Regions from separate parts of the Homo sapiens genome. Here region 1 is linked to region 2. Evidence: promoter capture Hi-C in human tissues and cell types (Jung and others, 2019). All regions are on one chromosome and are shown on one strand. The core of a region is centred on a gene start or on the middle of the fragment in contact, and the rest is flanking DNA. Distances in the headings are between cores, read along the strand shown.

Region 1 (2,700 bases), core at 37-2,536, 1.2 Mb after region 2:
AAGATGAGAAATAACCATTTCAAACTAAATTTTTTTTTTAAAAAAGTCTGTGTTGTCAAGTATATGGAAAATGGGCATTTCTCAGGGAAAACTAATACGTTTTCCTGGAAGATAATTTAGAAAACATTTAAAAAATATATTCCTTTTATACAGCCATAAATAATCATGTTTAAAAGAATATCTAATAAAATGGAAGAAAATTCACAAGATCGTGTTAAGTGAAGAAGGCAGAATACATCTTCGCAAGGCATTATTCCAATTATGCCAGACATGCCATGGATATACGTAGAGAAAACACCGGAGGCAACATACCAAAATATTAAATGTAATTGACTCTACGAGGTAAAACTGAGTTTTATGTTCCCCTATTTCCTATTTATGCAATAGATTTAAAAAGTATTTTTACGACTAATTATACAATTCAAAAATTGCCTGTGTTGAAAAGCATGAAAGTACATGAAATTGTACTACCCTGGAAACCCCAGGAAGTGTTTAGTTTGGAAAGCCAGGGCCACCTGCTAGTGGGTGAGTCATGGGCACAGGCTCGCACCTGCCACCGCAGACGCCACACAGGCTGCTGAGCCTTTCCAAGCGAAATGCCCCACGTGCGCCAACGGCCACCTCGGCCGTCGCCCCACGCTTGGCCCGCAGCCAGAGGAAGCCCAGCAACTTCTGCTCTTTCTTAATTTCTAGAAAAGAGTGAAGAGAGGCCTTTTCAAAGTTCGCAGGATCGGGCCTTTTTGTGCTCCACTTTGGAACAAATCGGAAGCTAGGGCCTTCCAGGTGCGCCACCGCCGTCCCGGGACCGCCGCGGCCGCAAGCGTCCGCACTGCGGCCGGGGTGCGCGGCCTGAGAAAGGCCCGGGCAACGACGCTCCGGGGGCTTGCCGGAGCCCTCTTTGAAGTCTCCCGACGGGCTCCCAGCCTCTCATAAGGCAGCTAAGGCCGAACACCCCGGTGACCATAGGCCAGCCACGCGGTCGCCCGGGGACGCGCGTGCTCCGCAGGGACAAAGGGTCGGGAAACTTGAGCTCCGGCCAGTCCCAGAGAAACCCGGGCTGGTGGTCGCCATGGCAACGGAGTCCGACCCTCCGAGGCCTGCCGCCCTGGCGCGGCAGTGGCTTGAGTGACCCGGCCCGCTCTTGGCGGGGGCGCCCGCGCCCCGGCCCCGGCAGTCCCTCCCCGCCCCCAGGCCGCGGCCGCGGGAGCCGGCGACTGACCCTCGGCAGCTCCTGTAGTCACGTGGCGCTGGGAACCCGGCGGGGGGAGGTTGGGGACGGGCCTGGCAGTTGTGAACTCGAACCTGCCGCTGTCGCCGCGGCGGGGCGGGGAGCGAGAGTGGGCCGCGGAGGCCGGCCTTCGGGCTCCATGGACGGGCGCCGCGTCCCTGCACAGCCCGCCGCAGAGGTACGGCCGGGGCAGGGGCGCGGGGCCACCGCGGGCCCGCGGGGGGCCGCTCCACCTGCGGGGCGCGTGACCGTGAGTGTGCGCGACCGTGTGTGAGTGCGCGGGGGGGGACGCTGCTGGATCTGCGGGGGTGGGGGAGCGCACCTGCGCACAGGCTCCGCGAGCTGCGCCGTGCGTGGGACCCGAAATGGCTCACTCGCAAGAACGGGACCCGTGTGCCCGGGAGCGTGGACGGAGGACACGCATCAGTACAAAAGGGCGGTGTGGGGCTTCTGCCACCCGCGGCCAGCCGCGATGCGGAAGGGGATTCTGACGGAGTCGTGGTCACACCAGCTGGCCCTGCGCAGCCCCATGGGAAATAGGCCTGGAATTCCTGTCGGGAGGAGGCTGGGGGAAGGGGAGCCAGCAGGGATTCCAGAGTTCCTGCCATAGGCCGGCCTTTGGCCATCAGGGAAAGCCCAGACTCTGGCCACAGAATGGAGAATTCGTTCCGTGACCTTACCAGGGAAGAAAGTGACCCCGAAAGACAGCAGTGTGCTTCCTTGTTGAAGGGGCACATTCATTTATTAATCCAATGTCCATTAAGGTCACTCTGCCAGGCAGGATGTGGGGCTTATGGCTGGTGCGTGTGGCTTTGTGGGGGGAGGGGTTGTGGCTGGTGAGGACACAAAGCTGACTGCCCTAGAGGAGCTCAGAGCCTCACTTCTGTTTTCTCTTCCCTCCCCACAGGTAAGGCTGGCCTCTCTGCAGTCAGAGGTCTGAGCTCTGCCATGGGGATAGGGGTGTCTTTATTACTGCAGTTTTCTCTAACACCTGGGGGCTACCGGAGTGTGGGCCGAAGCAGGCGCTGCAGCCGCGGAAGTATCCCCAGGAACATCCCCAAGAGGAGCTGGAAAAAGCCTCATCCCCAGCTCTGCAGTCTCCAGGGTAGAGTCTGGCCTTTGCTGTGCTCCCAAACCACGCCACAACAGGGGTGCACGGGCGTCCCCATCCCGGCGGAAGGAAATGGCCCTTTCTCATATCCTGGGGTCTTCCCTGTGCACAGTCTGACACTGGGAATGAGTGACCTTTGTGTTCCCTGAGAAGAGAGAGTGCGCTCTAGGGAATTTAGAAGGATGTGTCTGGAGCTTGTGAGCAGGCACAGAAGGGCCCTTAGGAGCCTAACTGCTTCCTTCCTCCTTCCGCGGAGGAGGCTCCTGTGCAGGAATCTGGGCTCCCCTGAGCTGTGGAAGAGCTGAACATGGGGCAGCCCCTGGCGAGGTTGGGGCAGGACCGGGCAGGGGACTGAGATTGC
Region 2 (2,853 bases), core at 277-2,776:
TATTTATTTATTTGACACAGGATCTTTGCTATGCCGCCCAAGCTGGAGCACAACGGCACAATCACAGCTCACTGCAACCTCCAACTCCTGAGTTCAAGCAATCCTACAGCCTTAGCCTCCTGAGTAACTAGGAGTACAGGCATTAGCCATCATGCCCGGGTAATTTTTATTTTTTATTTTATTATTATTATTATTATTTTTTTTTGAGACGGAGTCTTGCTCTGTTGCCCAGGCTAGAGTGCAGTGGCGCGATCTCGGCTCACTGCAAGCTCCGCCTCCCGGGTTCACGCCATTCTCCTGCCTCAGCCTCCCGAGTAGCTGGGACTACAGGCGCCGCCACCACACCCGGCTAATTTTTTTGTATTTTTAGTAGAGACGGGGTTTCACCGTGTTAGCCAGGATGGTCTCGATCTCCTGACCTCGTGATCCGCCCGTCTTGGCCTCCCAAAGTGCTGGGATTACAGGCGTGAGCCACGGCGCCCGGCCTTATTATTATTTTTTGAGATGGAGTCTCGCTCTGTTGCCCAGGCTGGAGCGCACTGGCGCGATCTTGGCTCACTGCAACCTCCGCTTCGGAGGTTGAAGCGATTCTCCTGCCTCAGCCTCCCGAGTAGCTAGGATTATAGGCCCACGCCACCACGCCCGGCTAATCTTTTTGTATTTTTAGTAGAGACGGGGTTTCACCATGTTGGCCAGGCTGGTCTCGAACTCCTGACCTCAGGTGATCCGCCTGCCTCAGCCTCCCAATGTGCTGGGATTACAGATGTGAGCCACCGCGCTCGGCTAATTTTTATTTTTTATAGGGATGGGGTGTCAATATGTTGCTCAGTCTGGTCTCGAACTCCTGGGCTCAAGTCGTTCTCCTGCTTCAGCCTCTCAGAGTGCTGAGATTACAGGTGTGAGGCACCACGCCCAACCCAATTTCAAGGTGTTTGAAGAGGCCACTGTTAAAATGCACTGCACCTTACCTGGGAGAAAGAGCTCAGCCCTCTTTTGACACCTTAACATGAATCACTTCTCTATCATCCATAACAGTGCAAAAGCTCTGGGATGGGTCCAGGTAAATCTGGATTGGGAAGAAGGGGAGTGGGAGGTAAAGTCTGCAAAGGAGTGAGGGAAGGCAGAAGGCCAGAAGAAAGTGTCTGAAGACAGAATTACTCCTGCAAAATTTTCACAAGGGTCAGGCACTATTTTCTCCCGGGATGCCCAATACATTTGCAGAATTAACAGTAATCAAGCCCACAGTCCAGGTCCTCGCATAGTTTGGGCCTTTAAAGTCGGCCATCCCAGATTGAGGGGGCCTGACCCCTGGGCGAGGCCGCCGCCTCTCAGTTTTGGGGCGGTGGCGACCCCAGTCCGGGAGTGGCCCCGGTAGGTCCCCGCAGGCGGGCAGGAGCTCCGAGGCCATTGGCTGGCGCGCGGGCTGCCAAGGGGCGGGGAGCGCCGCCGAAGGGGACTGTTTGCTCCTACGGGCTGTAGATGGAGCTGTCCGGCCCCGGAGAGGGGGAAGGCGCCTGGAAAACGTTCTTCTTCTCCCTGGCCGACCCGAGCGGGGAACAGCACTCCCAGGATGCAGTTTGTGTCAACACGGCCGCAGCCTCAGCAGCTGGGCATCCAGGGCCTGGGGCTGGACAGCGGGAGCTGGAGCTGGGCCCAGGCTCTGCCCCCGGAGGAGGTCTGCCACCAGGAGCCGGCGCTGCGCGGGGAAATGGCCGAGGGAATGCCGCCCATGCAGGTGGGAGAACCCCGCCGGCGCCATGGCCGCGCTGCCGTGGGGGCGGGGCGCGGGCTGGGCCGCGGGACCGGGCCGCGCCGTCCTCCGGTAGCCTTGCGGCGCCCTCCCAGCTTCCGCGCCCAGGCGAGGCCCGAGGCGGGCGGGGCACGGCCGGGCTGCGCGGCGGGCAGGACGGAGCGGGCCCGACGCAGGCCCGGAAGGGCAGGCCTGGCCCGCGCGGCGCGGAGCAGCGGTCGCCGGGCCCAAGTGCGGAGGCCCCGCGGGGCGGGGGCCGGGACCGTCCTTTCCGGGACCTGGCAGAGCTCTGACCCTGTGGCTGAGCCCCGGCTTGGGGCTCCCTTTGCGCCCGGCCGGCGGAGAGCTTCGCGGGCAGTGCTTCCGCCCGGCCGCAGAAGTGAATGCCTCGTTCGTGTTTACACGGTGGCCAATTTGACGGGGATATTTTTTAAATGTTTGATTACCACCTTTCACCAAGTGTAATGAGTAATTCACTCTCCCCCTGCACCGGGTGTGATCCAGGGAGGGGGCCATGGAGAGATGACTTCGGGGTCTTTCCTGCGGTTGACAAACTTGGCCGCATGTTGGAATGGCCTGGGCAGCTTTTAAGACTCCTGAGCCCTTGCCTGGTCCCAGAGCTCAGGGTCTCTGACGGGTGAGAGTAGCACCAGGCATTTCTTCAGGCTCCATCGATGATCTCCGTGGGCAGAACCGGTGCTCCAGAATTGGGTATAAAACCAGGGGAGGTGGATCCTCAGAGAGGCCTGAAAGCTTGCCCAGGGAAGACTCTCTGGGCCCACCCTGGGGCTGGGCTGCTCAGGGGCCCCTCTGCTCACCACGCGGCTCTCAGCCAGGTGCTAACGAGGGAGCCAGGGGCTGCTGTGTTGTGTTTGATCATTTTCAGGGTTAGGGCTTCAAACCCGAGAAAACTAAACTGGGCCCCGGGACTTTCTTAACTTCTACTGTGGACTCTGTCCCCTTCTGTGGGCTAGGGCGGAGTGGAGCCTCTGTGATGGAGGAATGGGTGCTTTTGATGGAAACACCAGCACCTCTTACTGGTATTACAGGGCCTGGCGATCCTAGGGCCCTGCTCTCCACTCTGCTGTGTCCCGGAGCAGGTC

What was found. The method cuts DNA at HindIII sites, captures the fragments that hold promoters and counts their contacts. A contact is called where the count stands out against the background at its distance.
Region 1: a contact is called between the fragment with the promoter of REPIN1 here and the fragment with the promoter of ZNF282 in region 2, in 1 of the 25 tissues and cell types used here (aorta).

What each region holds. Positions count from the first base shown.
Region 1 is chr7:150,367,536-150,370,235 of GRCh38, forward strand. REPIN1 (replication initiator 1) reads left to right here and starts at 1,287. Exons shown (of 3, transcript NM_001099695.2): 1 at 1,287-1,406; 2 at 2,136-2,333. The coding sequence starts at 2,177. All of the region lies in intron 3 of REPIN1-AS1 (REPIN1 antisense RNA 1), which reads right to left. RefSeq lists enhancers at 761-820, 860-1,664, 1,665-2,470, 2,471-2,700 and silencers at 1,071-1,540, 2,051-2,200. The HindIII fragment of the contact is 15,434 bases long and covers 1-2,700 here.
Region 2 is chr7:149,194,020-149,196,872 of GRCh38, forward strand. It overlaps ZNF282 (zinc finger protein 282), which reads left to right and starts at 1,527. Exons shown (of 8, transcript NM_003575.4): 1 at 1,527-1,735. The coding sequence starts at 1,571. RefSeq lists silencers at 1,195-1,484, 1,303-1,624, 1,745-2,104 and an enhancer at 2,545-2,594. The HindIII fragment of the contact is 19,438 bases long and covers 1-2,853 here.